Linked DNA regions of Homo sapiens: all the other regions are linked to region 2. The links are contacts of gene promoters, found by promoter capture Hi-C in human tissues and cell types (Jung and others, 2019). All regions are on one chromosome and are shown on one strand. The core of a region is centred on a gene start or on the middle of the fragment in contact, and the rest is flanking DNA. Distances in the headings are between cores, read along the strand shown.

Region 1 (2,700 bases), core at 91-2,590, 450 kb after region 2:
TTTCCTTTCTTTCCTTCCTTCCTTCCTTCCTTCCTTTCCTTCCTTCCTTCCTTCCTTCCTTCCTTCCTTCCTTCCTTTCTTTCTTTCTTTCTTTCTTTCTTTTTCTTACCTTTCTTTCTTTCTTTCTTTTCTTCTTTCACAGGGTCTCTATTGCCTAGACTGGAGTGCAGTGGTGCGATCATGGCTCACTGCAACCTCAACTTTTTGGGCTCAAGTGATCCTCCTGCCTCAGCCTCCTGAGCAGGTGGGACTACAGGTGCATGCCACCACACTTGGCTAATTTTTTATTTTTTGTAGAAATGGAGTCTCACTATGTTGCCCAGGCTGGTCTCGAACTCCTGGGCTCAAGCAATTCTGCCACCTTGGCCTCCCACAGTGCTGGGATTATAGGCTTGAGCCACTGTGCTGGCAAGAGTTTTTGTCTTAACTTTGAGAAAAGAGGTTAGGGAGCATTAATTAACCCATTCATTCACCAGAGGGTTATTAAATGCTGACTGTATGCCAGTGGAGAGAGTTCAGTATGGAGAGTTTAGAGATGGGTAGTTCACAATCGCCGTGAAGAGTTGTTCATGGGTCCTCGGGGGAGACAGACAAGTAAACAAATTATGGCAACACAAGGTAATAGGTTCAAAATCAGGGACGCAAGAAGAATTACTTGACTGGGCAGTTCATAAAGGGCTTTGTAAAGAAGGTTACATTTGATCTGAGACCTGAAGTGTGGGTGGGAATTTATCAGGTGGACAAGAGAGGAAAGATGATGTGGCTGTGATTTAGAGTTGGACATATCTAGGTTCAAATGCTGACCCTGTTGCTTTCTGGCTCTGTGAACTTGAGTGGGTTATCTTGGCCTTCCCTGGTCTCAGTTTCCTCGTTTGTCCATGAGTTCACCATCAATACGCTGGGATTGTCATGAGGATTAAATGCAATGTCTTAGGATTAATGCCTGGCACACTGCAGATAGTCACTGAATGGTGGCTGTGGGTGCAGAGATCTGTTAGAGAATAGTGGGCCCAGGATGGACATGGCAGGGCCCAGGGCACGACAAGTAGCTTGGCAGGACTGGTGCTTAGGATGCATGTGGAAGACAAGAGGCAAATGTGAAAACCAGAAACAGAAGCAGGGAGCTGAAGCGCTGTGAAAGCCCGTGCAGTGCTGAGACTGCATAGACACTGCGAACAGCTGAAGGACTTCGAGGTACCATCAGGTTTGCTTTTGAGAAAGTACTCTGGCTCCAAGGTAGACAAGTAAGATAATTGCCTCATTTTGCTCCATCTCTGATAACTTTATTATTACTATTATTTTTACATCTATCTCTCCCCACTAGACTGTGAGCTCCTTGAGGGCAGGGATTGTGTGTTTTGTTTCTTAATTCACAGAAACCCTGGCACTTAGCATTTTACTTGGCAGGTGATAGATGCTCAATAAATATTTGGTGAATGAACAAATAGGAGAGGGTAACTGCAACTGCAAACCTAAAGGTAAGAATTGAAAGGCAGGTGAACGTTGACAGCAAGAAGCACACTCTAGTCATATTTCAGGTGCTAGAACTGACACGACGTAGTTCCTAATTAAATGGGAGATGGAGGAGTCTAGGGTGAATCGTTGGTTTCTGACTGGGTCACTTGGTAGCTGGTGGTGTGATTTGAGATTGATACAAGACGTCAGAGTTGGGAGGAGACAGTGGGACAGTGAGGAGTTCCCTTTATTCATACTGGCTCTGAACTGCCCGTGAGATATCTAGGTGAAGTTGTTCAGAAACAATGAGAAATTTGTGTCTGAGGTTAGGGAGTGGTACTGGTTGAGCATCCCAGATCTGAAAATCTGAAATTAGAAATGCTCCCAAACCTGAAACGTATTGAGTGCCAACATGCCGTTCAAAGGCAATACTCATTAGAGCATTTCAGACTTCAGATTTGACTATGTATCCTGCAAATATTCCAAAATCCAAAAAAATCAGATGCCCCGTCACAGCAGTTGAGAGGCAGAGGCTCTCCTTATAGGATGAGGTCTTAGAACGGAGAGCCTTCTTCATAGGGGAGTCTGAACTTCTGGATTTTGTGGAGAGATTGAAAAAAATTGGTGGACCAGCACAGAATTACCAGTTATTTATTTTACCTATGAAAGCTAGCAACTAAACTGAAACATAGAACTACCACCACTATGTATATGTATATTTAAAGAATATTTAAACACAAAATTTAAAAGGTCATGCTGTCAATATATTCAAACCTTTTTTTTTTTTGAGGCAGAGTCTTGCTCTGTCTCCCAGGCTGGAGTGCAGTGGCATGATCTCAGCTCATTGCAACTTCCGCCTCCGGGGCTCCAGCAATCCTCCTGCCTCAGCCTCCCATGTAGCTGGGACCACAGGTGGGCAACACCACGCCGGGCTAATTTTTGTATTTTTAGTAGAGACGAGGGTTTCACCATGTTGCCCAGTCTAGTCTCAAACACTAGAGCTCAAGTGATCTGCCCACCTCGGCCTCCCAAAGTGCCAAGATTACAGGTGTGAGCCCCCGCACCCAGCCAACATATTTAACCTTTTGGTGTTTACCACATTGTCCTAATTTTTCTCAATTCATTACCAATCCATGTAAAAACCCCATCATGGTACACGCCAGCACACAAGTGCCACTGGATCATCAAAGGTAGCTAGTGGCTTAGTGCATGGAAAAGCATTTACTGAATAGCGCTGGTCACAAA
Region 2 (2,794 bases), core at 94-2,593:
TGGCATCTGTAAAAGGTGTCAAATGAAAACACTTTCAATTTCATAGCTCTTCTGATAAAACTCAAGTCCATGATTACTCAAATACCTAACAGTTCATAGGTAGGTGAATTCAACTACCATATAGGTAGCAAAGGTTCAAACTTCAACCTCCTACGTTATCCAGATTTCAGCCTGAAAGGTTTCTACAACCTGTTTTATAACAGACTTGATAACAAGTCTCTCAGCTCAGTTTTTCTAAAATCAAAAAGTTCCCTCCTCACGTTTCATAAACTTTTGTGCTTCCTAGCCCTGTTATATTTGTTCTGTCATTTAAAATTAGGAACTCACCAAAAACTGTGTTGGTGGGGTTCATTGCAACTTGATTCTTTGCGGCATCACCGATCAACCGTTCAGTGTCCGTAAAGGCGACATAGCTTGGAGTGGTTCGGTTTCCCTGATCATTGGCAATTATCTCGACTTTTCCGTGCTGGAAAACACCCACACAAGAGTAGGTGGTGCCAAGATCAATACCAACTGCAGGTCCCTTGGACATGGTTGCTGAAAAAAAGAAAAATCTGGTTTAAAAATTCAATTAATCAAAATATTTCCCTCATCCCTTAACAGAACACTTAACCAGGAAAAACGTATGGCCACTGCCAAGAGGTAATAGTGCCCATCACCTCCTGTCTAAGCACGCGCGAGGTCCAGAACTAGTGCTGCAGTCCAGGTTGCCGTGCCAACCGCAGCAGAGCACGCCCTAGATGAAGGACCCATCTACCCAGACGGCGTGGGGCGTTGCTCAACACGTGGTCTTACCCCGAACTGAGCACTGTCTGTTCCCCTCCCTCGCCAGGTGCCAGTGCCCCCGGGAGTCAACGGGCTTTTAACTACTCCGGAATGTACCCCCATACTGGAAGCACGCCAAGAACAGCTCTGAAGAACCACGGTGGGACTGGACTAAGCAGGGAACTGGGTGAAAGAAAACGCTGGCTCCACTTCCCCGCGCGCCAGGCAAACCGATGCAGCAACCCTCCCCCGCCACGCGGCCGCCGGGCGTCTCCCAGCCTCCCCTGGGGCCACTGCGGCCCACTCCCTACATTTCCGTCCTGCCGGCTGCAACCAAATACCGCTGCCATCCCACCGAAAACTGAGGCCCTTTAAGCCGGTAGAAGGAGCCGCACACTCGCCTCGACGAGATTCTCAGAACCCCCAAGCCTCAGCAAGCCCAACAGGCCTGTGTGGAGGCTGCACGCTCCCAGACCCACAACCCAACTCTTGAGCAGAGGTTTTACCTGGGGTGTAGGCCTGGCTCCAATAACGAAGGAAGCCACAAAAAACCCAAGAGCTGCAGGCGAGTTCAATGAGACCGGTTTCCGCCCGCCACCCTGCCTCTTATACCCTATCTTAGAACCTTCCAGAAGGGGCCCGCCCCTGCTGCCTGCCATTACGGCTTCCCCGGCCAATAGACGCCCGGCTGCCCTTACAAGACCCAATCACAAGCCCGGCTCCACTCCTCGGGCCTCGCCCCCTTCCGCACCCACCCCACCGCGCTCCGCCTCACGATAACGCACTCACCGCAGCGTTCTGGAACTTTCAAGCTCGCCCCCGCTCTCCGGACGGCCCCGGGGAAAGGGAGGGTGGGGCGCAGCGAGTCCGCGCGCGGGAGTCCTCAGTTACCCCGGGCGGGGGAGGGGAGCGTCCACCTCTACGCATGCGCCCCCAGCTTCCGCGGGAGGGAGGGGGCGGAAAAAGGAGGAGGAAGAGGGGCGGGCAAACTTGGAACTAACCAATGATAGCGGCGCTAGCCGGGATCTTGGCCGGCACAGAACTGGGGGCGGAATCGCGCGGGGCCTGAAGGGAGGGGTTTGGGCGCGGGAGCCGGGCAGGAGAAGACGGAAGTGGAGCGAGGACAAAATGGCTGCGAAGGTTGTTGCTCCCCTCCCCCACCCACGTCCGAATCCTCCTTTCCATGCCCCACCTTCGTGTTCCAGACGGGCCTCTAAGTGCCCCGGGTTTCGCGAATCTGTATTTCATAGCGTGGCTTTGGACAAGGGCTGACCCCGAGGGGCTGGGGCGAAGGTTCCGGCTTCAGGGTGCCACTAGGGCTGCTCGCTCACGGCCCCCCAGGATTGGGATTGGAGGGAGCCGCCAGGCCGCCGCGGGGTGGGGCGGGTTAGCTCGGCAGGCCTCCCAGCACCTGCATTTCCCTACGGCAACTGTCGGGAGGCAGCCCCCGACGCAGAGGTTTAAGGGGCCCGGCTTTTCAGAACCGCCTCAGGACGCGGTCGTGTCTGGATCCCTCCGCGGAAAAGAAGGCGAAACCGCTTCTCTGAGCCCTGACCGTTAGGCCCCTTCCCACCTCCGTCTAGAACAGATTCGGCTTCTTGGCTCAGTCCTTCCCCAACTAGCCCAAGCCCTACATTTCCCCGTTGTTTATAAAATAAACAGGTTTAAATGGTGGCGAGTGTGTTCTTGGTTAGGTGAACCAGGCATTAGGAATCATAGGTTCCAGTAGCCGTGCGTCCTTGATTTAGACTTTCTGAACGTTTGTATTTTCAGTAACATGAGGTGATATCTTTCCTGGTTTGACTTTCATCAAAAATTAAACGACAGACCATACCGACGCTTTGAAAACGTGACTGAGCTGGTGCACAAAACAATGGTGCCTAGAATTTTGAATTGTGCAATGTTGTGCATGGCCGCGGATATGTGGGGCCTTGTGGTTCCAAGAGCCTGTCTCAGGTACCTTGAACACTCCCTGTATCCTTTCAAGCAGGCGAGGTAGCTGTTATTCCTATTTAGTAGATAAATAGGC
Region 3 (2,700 bases), core at 163-2,662, 260 kb after region 2:
AAGCACTTTTCACTTATTCAACAAATATTTATTGAATGTCTACTATGTTCCAGGCACAGCTCCAGGGGTGGGCAATATACCAGTGAACAAAATAAAGTGAACTGTAAGTTGTGGCACATGCTTCCTTAGGAGCGTGATATCTACACATATAGATTAGAGTGAATAATACAAGACAAGTGACCAAGATGTTTTTGTTCTCATGGGATGTAAAAATGCTCAGTTAGCTTCTAAAGACTAAAAACATTGGAAAAAATAGGAGATAATTATAGACTGCAATAACATGGGAGGGCTCCAAAGGGAGGAGGTGTTTAAGTCAGGTTCTTAGAAGATAAAAGGAATTGCCGGGCGTGGTGGCTCATGCCTGTAATCCCAGCACTTTGGGAGGCCGAGGCAGGCAGATCATGAGGTCAGAATATCAAGACCATCCTGGCTAACACGGTGAAACTCCTTCTCTAATAAAAAATACAAAAAATTAGCCGGGTGTGGTGGCAGGTGCCTGTAGTCCCAGCTACTCGGGAGGCTGAGGTGGGAGAATGGCGTGAACCCGGGAGGTGGAGCTTGCAGTGAGCCGAGATCGCGCCATTGCACTCCAGCCTGGGCGACAGAGCGAGACTCCGTCTCAAAAAAAAAAATAAATAAATAAATAAATAAAAAGAAGATAAAAGGAATTAAGGTGGGCAAGGGGAAGAGCATTTCAGAAAGGAGAACAGCATAATGGCATGCACAGAATTGGTGATCCATGGGCATATGTTTGAGATATATTGGTAAAACCAGACTGACTCAGTGATGAGTGTACATTAGAGTGGAATATAAAATGAGGTTGAATGAATCCAGTAGGAAAAGATGAGAAAAAGTCCTAAAATCAAGCAAGGGTACTTAGATGTGATTCAGTAACAGAGAGGAAGACATTGAATGCACAGGAGATGTTGTGGAGAGCACAGATATTAGCTATAGTTTTAAGTCATTCAAGCTTGAGAGTCTGTGTTTCTCAACTCACATTCAAATCCTCAAATCAGAAATAGGAAGAACCATATCAGGACTGTACTGGGCTCTCCCCACAAGGTGGATGCTCTGAGTGTAGGGATATCAGGTTCATAATGAAAATAGAGCCCTTGTTCTCGCTAATGAAGTGTGTTTGGGATTTTGTTTTATTGTTTTTTTGATAGGGACCAATTTTTTTTTATAGCCAATGAGAGAAAAGTAAGGAAGAAAGGAAACTTATAATGTGGTTCTAAGTGGTTTTACCACATATTTGATTAGGTCCCTAGGGGAAAGATAAACGTTTAATTGAATAATTTAAGAAGGTGAACACGCAGAAAGGAGACTCCTTAACTACTGATTAGAAAGCATATCTGAGCTGGAAAGTATCCTCTTTGACTTAAGTGGTGTGATAAGTGCCATTATTATGGGAAAATTCACACTATTTCAGAGTCTACAACTGTAATACGACTGTGGCTTGCCTAACACTTCTCATTTTCAAAGACATTAAATTCTTGAGTGCCTATTACCAAATGTGTAATATCTCCACACTGCCATTCCCATACCAGCCAAAACACAATGCAGCAGAAGGACTCACTGTGTAGAAAAGTTGTCAAGAAGCCACTCTGGGTGAACAACGCCTACCAATATCTCCCACTTTTTCACCATCCACTTGTTTCTTAACTCTCTGCAGCTGGACTAAAATTCCCTTCTCAAAGGTTACCAATTACTTTCTAATCGCTAAATCCAGCAACTTTTCCATTTGTCTGATCTCAGTAGCATTCTATAGCACCATCTTCTTAAAACCGCATGTTTATTTGGCTCTGGGGTTGTTTCATGCTTCTGAAGTTCCCACTACTTCTCTTCTCTACACGTTGTAAAGACGAAACTACTACATCCCACCATTATCCCCTGTTCTTTATTCAGCTCTTTATTCAGCTCAGATCTCATTCACTGTGTACGTCAGCCAACACACCTGTGTAGATGATTCCTGAGTTAACGAGTGTCTTCTTTGTTTCTGGCCCCTTTGCATCCTAATGCATACCTCATATATAGTTGGTGCCAAAAGACGTAATGAATTCCCATGTCCACATACGCAACATGAATTTCTCTTTATTTCAGACCTCCAACTCTCATTGCTCATTTGAACCTGGATCTTTCCAACCCCCAAATTTCTATACTCAAATGAATCACATTTAATACATTTAACTGTCTTGTAGTTACTTTCCAGCAAGGAGAAAAATCATGTGTCTCCTTTTCTGACTTGCTTATTTCTTTTATCCATACTCGGAGCCTTAATTCATGTTTGACTAACTTGACACTACCCCAGTCCCACCCCTGGCACCTATAGCCAATGTCCTAGGTCTATAGATTTTCCTCTAACTCCTTTTCCTTCTTTTCTATTCTTCCCTTGCTGTTTATCACTGCCCTAATTCAAGACTTTATCAGGCTGGAATGATAATTACTAGTTTTCTAAGAGGTATTCTACTTAGAAGCATAATTAAATGAAGAAGAGTTTCTCCTGAGCTTCACTCTATCCTGCTTGCCATTGCCAGATTAATATTCCTAAAACACTTTTTTTGGTCATTTATCAGTCCAAATTCCCTAAGATTTTTAATGGTTCACATTGCCAGCAGAACCCAGTGCAAACACCTTGGCTAGTATTCTGAGCAACCAGTGTCTAGCTTTCAGTTTACTTCCCATTACACATTTCTGGACCTC
Region 4 (2,700 bases), core at 15-2,514, 300 kb before region 2:
CCGGGTGGTGGTGTGATGGTTTGGGGATGATTCAAGTGCATTACATTTATTGTGCACTTTATTCCTATTATTATTACATTGTAATATATAATGAAATAGTGATACAACCAACTCACCATAATGTAGAATGAGTGGGAGCCCTGAGCTTGTTTTCCTGAAACTAGGTGGGACCGTCTAGTTGGAGACCCCTGACTTAGTTGGGACCATCTGTGGGTGATGGGAGACAATGACAGACTATCAGGCATTAGATTCTCCTGAGGAGCCTGCAACCTAGATCCCTTGCACGTGCAGTTCACAGTAGGGTTTGTGCTCCTGTGAGAATCTAATGCTGCCACTGATCTGATAGGAGGCAGAGCTCAGGCAGTAATGCTCACTCGCCTGCCTGCCTGCTGTGCAGCCTGGCTCCTAACAGGCCACGTACCAGTACCCATCTGTGGCTCAGGGGTTGGAGACACCTGACTTAGATGTGTCTTATGTGTGTCATAATGGAATAGCACAAGTGATTCCATCACCTTTGCCATATAGAGGTAAGTCATAGGTCTCACCTACACTTGAGGGGAGGGAATTATACAAAGGAGTGAACACCAGAAGTTAGGATTACTAAGGTGTCACCAAGGGTCTGTCTGCCACACTGATATACATATACCTTTAACATCTTCAGGAAGTTCATATTTTTAAAATTTTAACACCTACTATGTGCCAGCTACTAGAGATGCAAAGAAAACAAGAAATGGTCTCTGCTTCAAGTAGCTCATGGTCTATTGCAAAGACAGATCTTTTAAATATAATTTGGAAGGTGCTATGATACAACCGCCTGGCTGGTAAGGGTGCCCAGACAGGTAGGGACCACTTCCTGGAGGAAATGAAATGCAAGTGAGTGTTAAAGGATAGGCAGGAGCTAGCCAGGTAACTGAGGGTGGAGTTAGCCTTGCAGGAAAAGGAACCAACAGAGAAAGTTTTTTTTTTTTTTGTTATTGTTCTTTGAGATGGAGTCTTGCTCTGTCACCCAGGCTAGAGTGCAGTGGCTCAACCTTGGCTCACTGCAACCTCCGCCTCCCGGGTTCAAGCAATTCTCCTGCCTCGGCCTCCCAAGTAGCTGGGATTACAGGCATGCACCACCGCACCTGGCTAATTTTTTTGTATTTTTAGTAGAGACGGGGTTTCACCAGGTTGGCTAGGCTGGTCTTGAACTCCTGACCTTGTGATCCACCCACCTTGGCCTCCCAAAATGCTGGGATTACAGGTGTGAGCCACTGCACCCAGCCCCAGAGAAAGGTTTTAAGTGTGAGAGAAGAACCAGGGAGCAGAATGTTTGAGGGTGAAACTGAAGAAGGAGACAGATGTGAGGCCATGGAGGACTCAGCATGCCATGCTAAGGAGTCTAAACATGTTTTTGGAGATGAAGAGTTTAAAAAGTAGGATGGGATGCCTTACGTTGAATCCTGGATGGCAGCAGTGTAAACTGGAAATCTCTTTTTGTCATACCATATTCCATACCTAACTATACTGGTCATCTCTTTATACCATGAACCCCAAGACCATCCAGTTGTTTCTCTACCCTGGATTTCGGTCTCCCTGGATAACTGATAACTCTGGAAATAATGACCAGCAGGATGGGTTTGACTGCGCAGGAGTTTTTGCCATGACGGTATTTCCTTTGGTAGAATCTGACCTATAGTCTGGTTTGGAGGAGTTTCAAATCTTCACGAGAGTGTCAGTTGGCAGGGCCGAGGTGGCAGAGGAGGGTTTCTCTTAAGTGGCATCTCCCCACTCTCCTTGGAAGGTCTTCTCAAGAGTCTCATGATACTAACCCATCCTCCTGGTAGAAAGGCCTCAGCTTAGTTATCCAAGTCCGTGACTTCTTTGTGTTTACTCACATATTCTTTACCCCCATCTCTACCAACAACCAAAAATAAAAATAAAAAAATAGCCTGCCATGGTGGCACACACCTGTAGTCCTAGCTACACAGGAGGCTGACACAGGAGGATCACTTGAGGCCAGGAGGTCGAGGCTGCAGTGAGCTGTGATTATACTGATGCACTTCAGCCTGGGTGAGAGTGAGACACCAACTCCAAAAAATAAAACATAAATAAGTGTTGCTAACAAATTACTTACCAAGAAGAGTTACAGAAGAGTGACAGTGGCTCTGTCTGGTCTGCATACGTTTTCTCTGACCCACCAAAGCCGTTAGCCAGAGTCTCCTATGTAGCTTTGGGCTGAAACCGTTTCAGAAGGACTAAAAATTACCCAAGTTTAAGTATTTTTAGCTGATTCTAGTGGGTTAGAGAGAAAAGGGGGTGGAAATAAGAGAAAAAACAGCTAGTCTCTGTTGTCATCTGCAACCTGAAATCACTCTTCATTTTCATCTGTTTCTCCCAGATCCTTTTTTTTTTTTTTTTTTTTTTTTTTTTTTTGAGACAGGGTCTCACTCTGTTGCCAGGCTGGAGTACAGTGGCATGATCTCTGCTCACTGCAACCTCTGCCTCCCGGGTTAAAGCGATTCTCCTGCCTCAGCCTCCCGAGTAGCTGGGACTACAGGCATGCACCACCACGCCCAGCTAATTTTTGTATTTTTATTAGAGATGGAGTTTCACCATGTTGGCCAGGCTGGTCTCGAACTCCTGACCTCAAGTGATCCGCCCACCTCCACCTCCCAAAGTGTTGGGATTACAGGCGTGAGCCACCGCGCCTGGCCGGTT
Region 5 (2,700 bases), core at 3-2,502, 320 kb before region 2:
GTCTCACTACGATGCCCAGACTGAGGAGTGGAAAGTTTAACTCAACCTGTTTTAGAAAAATTATTCTAACAATAGAGAGAAGTATGGATTATAGAGGAGGAAGATTTAGAAAAGAGCTGTCCACAGTGTGTGGCTGGGGGAGGAATTTTAATAGAGAGCAAAAAAATCACTTGTAAGCATTTAACCTTGGCTAGGTCACTTAACCTCATCAAGACTCAATTTCTCCACTAATAAAATGGGAATAATAAGATTTCTCTCTGAGGTTCTTTTGGGCATTGCATTTTCTATCAAGTACCTACTATAGTGCTTGGCATACAGTATTCTTCTCACGCTCTATCCTCCTCCTGACAGCTCCATGCTGTTGGTGGGTATCCATGGTCGGGTATTGGAATGTCTTACTCTCCTCTGATTTTCAGGAGACATAAATTTTCTTCCTAACTTTGCAATACTGAAGGAAAAAACAGTCTTCTGAAAAGTTTCCTTCCAAGTGCAGGGCTAAATTTTCATCTCTGCTCACTCTCTGATTTGACAAATTGGCATAGCTCATTTGCTGTGTACCAAATTGTCTTGATGCAAGAGTTTTTACATTTGGGGCTGGGCAGTGGTTCAAAAGTATCACTTTCCCATTAAGCTTTATGGGATTTACCTACAAGATGGATAACACATCCTTCAGACAGATGGCACAGCCCTGAAGCCATTGCCTAATTTCTTCTTCAGTGTTCTCCTTTTATCCTGTCTTCTATGATAGCTGATTTCCTTACATTCATGTCCACCCAGAAATAACTAGTTTCTAGAAAAGCTGTAATATGGATTGTATTTCTGTAAAGCCATATGTTCCATACGTCCTGACATCCTCGCAGATGCCATTTGATTCCATTTTGTCATATTCATTTAATAAATATTGAGTGTCTGCTTGGTGCCTGGCATCTGCAGTGCAAAGAGGAATAATATTCAGTTCTACACGCTGAAGGATCCCATATTTTGTGGCAAAGCAAGATCTAAAGACATAATTTAAGTAGACTGTGAATAGGTTAATTTGGAGCTACTAACTGGCTATCATGCAGGTGGGAATTGGGAGGTCACAAGAAACTTTCAGCAAATCTGGCATTTGAACTGCACCTTGAATTGTGAACTGAATCTTCCCAGGTGAAGAAAAGGGGATGGGCTTTCCTGACATGTTTCCTGATGAAAGAGCATGTACTTGAAAGAGAATGGCTGGCTCTGTAAAGGGTGAACCGTGTGTTGTCCCAGGATTAGGATGCCAGCAGCTGTTTACTGAAAGCACAATATGTGTTGTGTGCATGGTGCTAAGTACTTGTTTTATTTCACTTGATGCACACGGCAACCATATGAGGCAGTCCTATTATTATTCCCATTGTACATGGGATATCACTGATGCTTAGAGAGGTTGGATAACTTGCCCATAACAGAGTGATAAGCTATAATTTGAATATAAACCATCCTGTACACTCCTGAGTCTGTACTTGCAAGCGACCCTGCCATACCAGATGTGTGCAGGCCATCTGTGTACATGTGTGTGGGGCAAGGGGGCAAGCTGAAGGCAGAAAGGTCAGTTGAGGCCAGCTTTGAGATACTGAACACCAAGATAGAGGTTGTTGTAGACAAACATCTCTGCATGTTCATTTTTTATAAAAATTCACTATATTACTTTTAAAGTGAAACAGAACCCACTCTTTAGAGCATTTTTTAGCAAAAGTCCTGCTTTAGTGGGACATAATGTGTACATAAAATGGGGACTGAGGTTAGTAATCTAATTAAAAACAAATCGTTCGCAGGGATTTTGATTCCTTCTTACTTCAAAGCGCATATTAACATATAAATGAATTCTGTCCTCAAGGTAAGCCCCAATTACGTAAAAGTATTTCCAGGTTATTCGCTCTTTTCACCTTAAAAATGACAAAGTTTATTTTTTATATAAAAATTGAGGAATTCAGAACTTAACCTCTCAGCTAGTTTGAGGACTAAAGCTGTGATGTGATTCAGATTTTATAAGATCTTCACAGAATAAAATATTCAATTTACTCTCAGTTCATAGAATATTTTCATGTTCGGCTCTTTTCCTTCATAATGAATTTTAAAAATTTTCAATTGGATCTTAAATGAGATGTATCCCCGAAGTGTTTCAAACAGCAGAAACAAACCCAAACCCACAAAGACATAAATCAACAAAAATAGCACTCTTTGCATTGGCTGTTTACCAATAAATGAACATTCGGGTTCGTGTTAGAACTCAGTGAATGAGCAAAACCGGAGGTTGTGTTTGCTTCCTTTCAAGCCCGTCTCTTTAAGATCTAAGTCAGTTCACATAGTGGTCAGTGAACATCCCACTCCAGAGGAACTGCGTGAGTGATCGAATACTCCAAGCCTGAAATCCTCGCGGGTCTCCTGGTGGGAAGGCCGAGACATTTGCGTTATGAGGCCCCGTGATGCTTTGCTTGGGAGAGCACAGACCTGTAAGCAGCAAGGCATCCAGCTGCTCCTCTTCCCTCCCATAAGGCCCTCACGACAGCCAGGCCCCAGAAACGTGAACTTTCTGAACTTGGGTGGCCAGGCTGCTTCAGAGCCTCTTCTGGAGTCAGCAACCCTCCTTTGCTCTTCCCCCCTCCCTCCCACGGGTTCTGCTTCCTGGACCCTTCTGCTGACCAAGGAAACCAGCCTTGAGCAATTCCTAAGTATTTC
Region 6 (2,715 bases), core at 210-2,709, 500 kb before region 2:
TCCACCAGGGTTGATTTTCCAGCCACCACTCCTAACCTTGATATTTAATGGGTACCACCAACTCACCTTCATTCACCCCAAGTATTGATAACATTAAAAATATATTCCATTTAGGACTGGGAATAAATTCTCATACACTTTAAAGTTCCAGTCCTATGGTTGTTTTTGTGTGAATAACTAAAATGTATCACCAACATACAGTAATAATTCATTTTAACAATATATATTCCTCCAGAAAGTTTATAATTATTACATAAGCTCACAATATAATACAGCTCCGATATTTAGTTGGAATGCAACTTATTCAGGGGAATTTTACATATATTATAATTTTGTGCCTTTATCCTCCTTTCTTTATAAACATTCACTCTAAAGTATCAATTTCTTACTTAAAAACATTAGTTATAAATTTCTCCTCTTGAAATGATACCTGAAAATTGTATCAGTTCTTCTCACAGGTCAAATTATATAGAACCATAAACTCTGAAAAGTTTTGAGGCTCAGTAATATTTTCATTTTCACGTGGTAAAATATTCTGTTGTAGAAAGTAGGAAAATTTTCAGAAAAACATAGACAAAATCAAAGAAGGGGCATTTACATGGCTATTTAGAAATACTGACAGGAGAGGGTGAAGGATAAAAGAAGACATATTGGATCCAGTGTACACTGCTCAGGTGACAGGTGCACTAAAATTTCAGAAATCACCACTAAGAACTTATCCATGTAACCGAAAACCACCTGTGCCCCCAAAACTATGAAAATACTAAAAAATCAAAAAAGAAACGCTAAAAGGAGGAAATGATGATAACTCAGAACTAAAACTGGTTCACCAAGAGCATGACATGTCAGACTAACCTTGAGTTTTTCACTGACAGGGTCACTGAACTTCAACAGATTTTATCAAAGCATTTGACAATGACTTTCAATGGTATCATGTAGGAAATAAAATATGTTTATGAAAAAATAACTGAAGTGACATCAGAAAGATGGTTGACTAGAAATGTCTGGCACTAAGCAGTACTAAGAGGCAAGATTATAAAAAAAATGCCTACATCAATAAGCTAGAAAGGTTTCAAATAAACAACCTAATCATACACCTCAAAAAACTAGAAAAGGCTGAACGTGGTGCTTACGCCTGTCATCCCAGCACTTTGAGAGGCCTCCACACAAGAAAGGACTAAGACAATGAAGAAATTACTAAGATTTGACTGGAGTGTCGAAGGGAGCATGCTGAAGTGCAGTGGGGGAGTGGAGGCACACCTGTGGTGAGTGGAAGTCCAGGAGGGCAGCATGGAGGCACCCAGCCTCTGCAGTCCCATCACCCAGTACCAGATCAGATCTTTCCAGAGTCAGGAAGGACTTCCCATTGTGAGGAAAAGATAAGAGGAGATCCCCACCAGACCCCATTGACACTTTACCTGCAGTCCTTACAACAAAAGAATCCCAGAGTTCTCACAAGCCCTGACCCAGTTTTGAGAGCTGCCAGAATTCACACAGCTGAATTGCCACAGATTACCTCACCCACCCACTGTGAGCCAAGCCGCTGCAGCATGGCACCATCTTGAAGCTAGAGTCATTGCTGGAGTGTACCTGCTCGGGGGATCAGTAGCCACTGCACCACTCCAGCACTGGGGCTGAAATAAATTTCTTGAAATAAATGAAAATAGAAACAAGGCCGGGTGTGGTGGCTCATGCCTATAATACCAACACTTTGGGAGGCCAAGGTGGGCAGATCACCTGAGGTGAGGAGTTCGAGACCAGCCTGGCCAACATGACAAAACCCCATCTCTACTAAAAATACAAAACTTAGCTGGGTGTGGTGGGAGGTGCCTGTAATCCCATTTACTTGGGAGGCTGAAGTGAGAGAATTGCTTGAACCTGGGAGGTGGAGGTTGCAGTGAGCCAAGATAGGGCTATCGCAGTCCAGCCTGGGAGATAGAGTGAGACTTTGTCTCAAAAAAAAAAAAAAAAAAAAAAACCTCGAAAAGTAAGAACAAGCCAAACCCAAATTAGTAGAAGAAATGAAATAATAAATATAAGAGAAAACAATAAACAAAATTTACACTAAAAAAATACAAAAGACCAATTAAAGAAAAACCTACTTTTTAAAAAATAAAGAAAATCAACAAACTTCTTTCCAACATTTACTACAAAGCTATAGTAATCAAAACAGCATGATACTGACATAAAAAAGAAACATAGACCAACTGAACAGAATGGAGAATCCAGATATAAATCCAAACATTTATAGCCAACTCATCTTCAACAAAGACACTAATAACATACAATAAGAAAAGAACAGTTTTTTTCAATAAATGGTGCTGGCTCATATGTTCCTCACAGCACTATTCACAATAGCAATAACATGAAATCAACTCAGTGCCCATCAGTACTGGACTGGATAAAGAAAAAGTTGTACATATACAACATGGAATACTATCCAACCATAAGAAGCAATGAGATCATGTCCTTTGCAACAGCATGGATGGAGCTGGAGGACATTATATTAAGAGAAATAAGCCAGGCACGGAAAGACAAATATCACATGGTCTCACTCATATGTGGGACCTAAAAATGTAGCTCTTATAAAGATAGTAGATTGGTGGTTACCAGAGGCTGGGAAAAGTAGAGTAGTGGAGAAGATGAAGGGAAGAAAAAAGAATATAAATATAATTATTACCACTGAACTGTGTACTTAAAATGGTAAAAAAAAAA
Region 7 (2,700 bases), core at 69-2,568, 410 kb after region 2:
ACTGTATCACTGCTTAAAATAATATATTTCCCCATTTTTATTAACAAAGACACAAAGACATCTATAACTGCCACTCAGAGCCTTTTGCAGCTTCTAATTAGCATGAGATAATTGATACTAACAGGAGAGATTGCCTCAGTTGCAGCCAGAAGTAAAGAGATGCAGTACATTAGTCTCTGCAGCCTGGGTGTGGGTAAATGTAGTTTCCATCAGGCTCTGGAAATACTGCATTACAGCCTACATGCCCCCATGACGGCTTGGGACCACCTGAATCTCTCAGAACCCCTTCTGGGCATAGGAAGCTATGACTCCTGTAGGGTTGCCTGGAAGAGAAAGAGCTGTTTCTCCCTAGGAAGCACCTACTCAGTAGAGGTTGCCATATTCCGTCTTTCTAGCAGTAAAGCCGTGCCTTTCAGAGGGCAGAAGGACGGCTTCCTGGTGGTTCGTGGGTTTAGTCTGTACTTTCTGCACGTGTCCTGGGTACAGGGAGGGAGGAAGGGAGATCACTGGAATCATGAGAATTTGCCCAGCCCGCATTGCAGAGCTTCCTGGTCAAAGCCTAGTGAATTTCTCCCTTGTGGAGCGTGCTTTGGCTCAGATTCCTGTGGATTTTTCCCAGTCCTTCCAGTGCTGCTGGTATTAATGTGACCTTCCAGGATAAGCTCCTGCACTAGCACGCTGGTCTTAAACAAAACCAGGATTCTGCTTCAGCTGGTTTCCCTCAGGAATATCCCAGAATTTTACCAAGAGCTTCCCATCTTATTTAGGAACATGGTCTAGTGTTCCAAAATTTAATTTATACAGTGAATTTTATCTGAAGCTTGAATGTACAGCAGGAGGGATTAAAGTCATCCTAGTTCCATATCTAGCTGTCTTGAGCGAATGGCAAGCAGTTGCTTATACAAATTCCCTTCCTTGCAGTGTTAAGCCATCTTTCAGTCATCCGGTGCCCAGGCAAGGACATTCCAAATCCTAGTTTAGAGTTTCTTTTTCAGGGTTTCCAACAGACAGTTTCATCTGTTAGTGCCCTCTGCTGGACTTTCTCCAAGTTCTTTTCAACCTCCTGAATCCCAGAGTGGACGCAGACTGGATGTCTTCTCCCACTAAGGCCTTGACTAATCTGGAGTGGAGGGAGGTGTGCTTTTTGACCTTGTAGCATGCTGCACTCCTTTATAAACACCTTGGCCTGGAGGTTGCTCTTTTCATGGTCTCCGAAGACTGGTAGGTTTATTTAGGGAGCAGCGTGAGTTGCCTGGGGTCCAGGTGGCCTATATCATTGAAAAAGGCTCATATAAGAGAAGAATTGAAAGGGTGTGTGTGAGAGGGTGAGGCAGTGTCTGAATCTCTGGAAATTCTGCTCAACAATATTATTTCATGGGATTGAGTGGAGGAGTGGTTGGCAGCAATTCATCCATTTAACTTCTTTTTTTTTTTTTTGAGACGGAGTCTCTGTTATCTAGGCTGGAGGGCAGTGGCACGATCTTGGCTCACTGCAACCTCCACCTCCCAGGTTCAAGTGATTCTCCTGCCTCAACTTCCCGAGTAGCTGGGATTATAGGCGTGCACCATCACACCTGGCTAATTTTTGTATTTTTAGTAGAGACAGGGTTTCACCATGTTGGCCAGGCTGGTCTCGAACTCCTTACTTCAGGTGATCTACCCGCCTCGGCTTCCTAAAGTGCTGGGATTACAGGCGTGAGCCACCGCACCCGGCCCATTTAACTTCTTTAAGACTGTTGAAAAACAAGCTCAAATAATGGGAGGAAATAGGGCCAGGCCTCTGCCGAGGGTACTGGAGGAGGAAAGATCCTGTATATACCCTATGCCTGTTGCCACCATGGATTTATCTAGAGTCCCTCCAGCTCGATGTTCACCTCTCTGATGTGTTCCCTGGAGCTTTCCAACAGAGGTGTCCACCAGCTACACCTTGTTCATTTTTCTGCTGTTGTTGCATCACAGTCCACGGTGAATATTTGTATGTCTTAGACTGGGAGCTCTTTGCTGGAGAGACCTTGTCCTGATCATCTTTACAGTACTGTCTCCTAGCACAGTGCTGGGTACATGAGAGTGGTAAACGGAATTGAACTAGAATGCCTTTTCTTCTCATTTCTGCATGTCTTGAGTCTATCCAGTTTTAAGTGGCAGCACAAAAATCTTGTTGTTAAGACAGAATTGTCTTACTGGTCCCAGAAGGACATGACATTTCTGCATTCTGTGTTCCCATAGCACTTAATACATAGTATTGAGAGTTATCATTTTTCTGCTTTTAAATATAGTTATTTATATTGAATCTTACTTTCCTGATTCTAAGCACTTTGAGAGCAGGATCCTTGTTTGATTCACGTCTTTCTTTTCCTATAACCCATAAAATGATGCCTTGCATATAGGATAATGGCACCTGGCATTTACATAGCAGTTAAAATGTGGCAGATGCTCTTTTTCATACTTCACATTTCTTTCTCTTTCTTTCTTTCCTCCTTCTTTCTTTCTTTTTCTCTTTCTTTCCCTCTCCCTTGCCTCCCCTCCCCCCTCCCCCTCCTCTCCCCCTCCCATCCTCTCCCCTTCTCCCCCTTCCTTCCCTTCCCCCTCCCCTCTCCCTCCCCTCCCTTTCATTCTCCCTTCCCTCCCCTCTCCTCCCCTCCCCTCCCCTAGCACAGTGCTGGGTACTTGAGAGTGGTAAATGGAAAATGGAAATGAAAA

Evidence for each region. The method cuts DNA at HindIII sites, captures the fragments that hold promoters and counts their contacts. A contact is called where the count stands out against the background at its distance.
Region 1: a contact is called between a fragment that was not itself captured here and the fragment with the promoter of HSPA8 in region 2, in 1 of the 25 tissues and cell types used here (mesendoderm cells).
Region 3: a contact is called between a fragment that was not itself captured here and the fragment with the promoter of HSPA8 in region 2, in 1 of the 25 tissues and cell types used here (thymus).
Region 4: a fragment that was not itself captured here is called in contact with the fragment with the promoter of HSPA8 in region 2 in 1 of the 25 tissues and cell types used here (dorsolateral prefrontal cortex).
Region 5: a fragment that was not itself captured here is called in contact with the fragment with the promoter of HSPA8 in region 2 in 1 of the 25 tissues and cell types used here (dorsolateral prefrontal cortex).
Region 6: a fragment that was not itself captured here is called in contact with the fragment with the promoter of HSPA8 in region 2 in 1 of the 25 tissues and cell types used here (spleen).
Region 7: a contact is called between a fragment that was not itself captured here and the fragment with the promoter of HSPA8 in region 2, in 1 of the 25 tissues and cell types used here (adrenal gland).

The regions. Positions count from the first base shown.
Region 1 is chr11:123,513,544-123,516,243 of GRCh38, forward strand. All of the region lies in intron 2 of GRAMD1B (GRAM domain containing 1B), which reads left to right. Among named protein-coding and RNA genes, the nearest start is that of GRAMD1B, 85 kb to the left of the region's middle. The HindIII fragment of the contact is 9,471 bases long and covers 1-2,700 here.
Region 2 is chr11:123,060,793-123,063,586 of GRCh38, forward strand. It overlaps HSPA8 (heat shock protein family A (Hsp70) member 8), which reads right to left and starts at 1,344. Exons shown (of 9, transcript NM_006597.6): 1 at 1,272-1,344; 2 at 328-537; 3 at 1-6. The coding sequence starts at 532. LOC124902775 (a long non-coding RNA gene) reads left to right here and starts at 1,870. Exons shown (of 2, transcript XR_007062927.1): 1 at 1,870-2,739. RefSeq lists enhancers at 1,093-1,262, 1,823-2,092 and a silencer at 1,413-1,802. The HindIII fragment of the contact is 26,894 bases long and covers 1-2,794 here.
Region 3 is chr11:123,322,436-123,325,135 of GRCh38, forward strand. No RefSeq gene overlaps it. Among named protein-coding and RNA genes, the nearest start is that of LINC02727, 9.0 kb to the left of the region's middle. The HindIII fragment of the contact is 4,223 bases long and covers 1-2,700 here.
Region 4 is chr11:122,759,396-122,762,095 of GRCh38, forward strand. All of the region lies in intron 1 of UBASH3B (ubiquitin associated and SH3 domain containing B), which reads left to right. Among named protein-coding and RNA genes, the nearest start is that of CRTAM, 78 kb to the right of the region's middle. The HindIII fragment of the contact is 6,956 bases long and covers 1-2,700 here.
Region 5 is chr11:122,739,189-122,741,888 of GRCh38, forward strand. All of the region lies in intron 1 of UBASH3B (ubiquitin associated and SH3 domain containing B), which reads left to right. Among named protein-coding and RNA genes, the nearest start is that of UBASH3B, 85 kb to the left of the region's middle. The HindIII fragment of the contact is 4,619 bases long and covers 1-2,700 here.
Region 6 is chr11:122,562,481-122,565,195 of GRCh38, forward strand. No RefSeq gene overlaps it. Among named protein-coding and RNA genes, the nearest start is that of TRK-TTT2-1, 3.9 kb to the left of the region's middle. The HindIII fragment of the contact is 5,016 bases long and covers 1-2,715 here.
Region 7 is chr11:123,474,686-123,477,385 of GRCh38, forward strand. All of the region lies in intron 1 of GRAMD1B (GRAM domain containing 1B), which reads left to right. Among named protein-coding and RNA genes, the nearest start is that of GRAMD1B, 46 kb to the left of the region's middle. The HindIII fragment of the contact is 3,578 bases long and covers 1-2,700 here.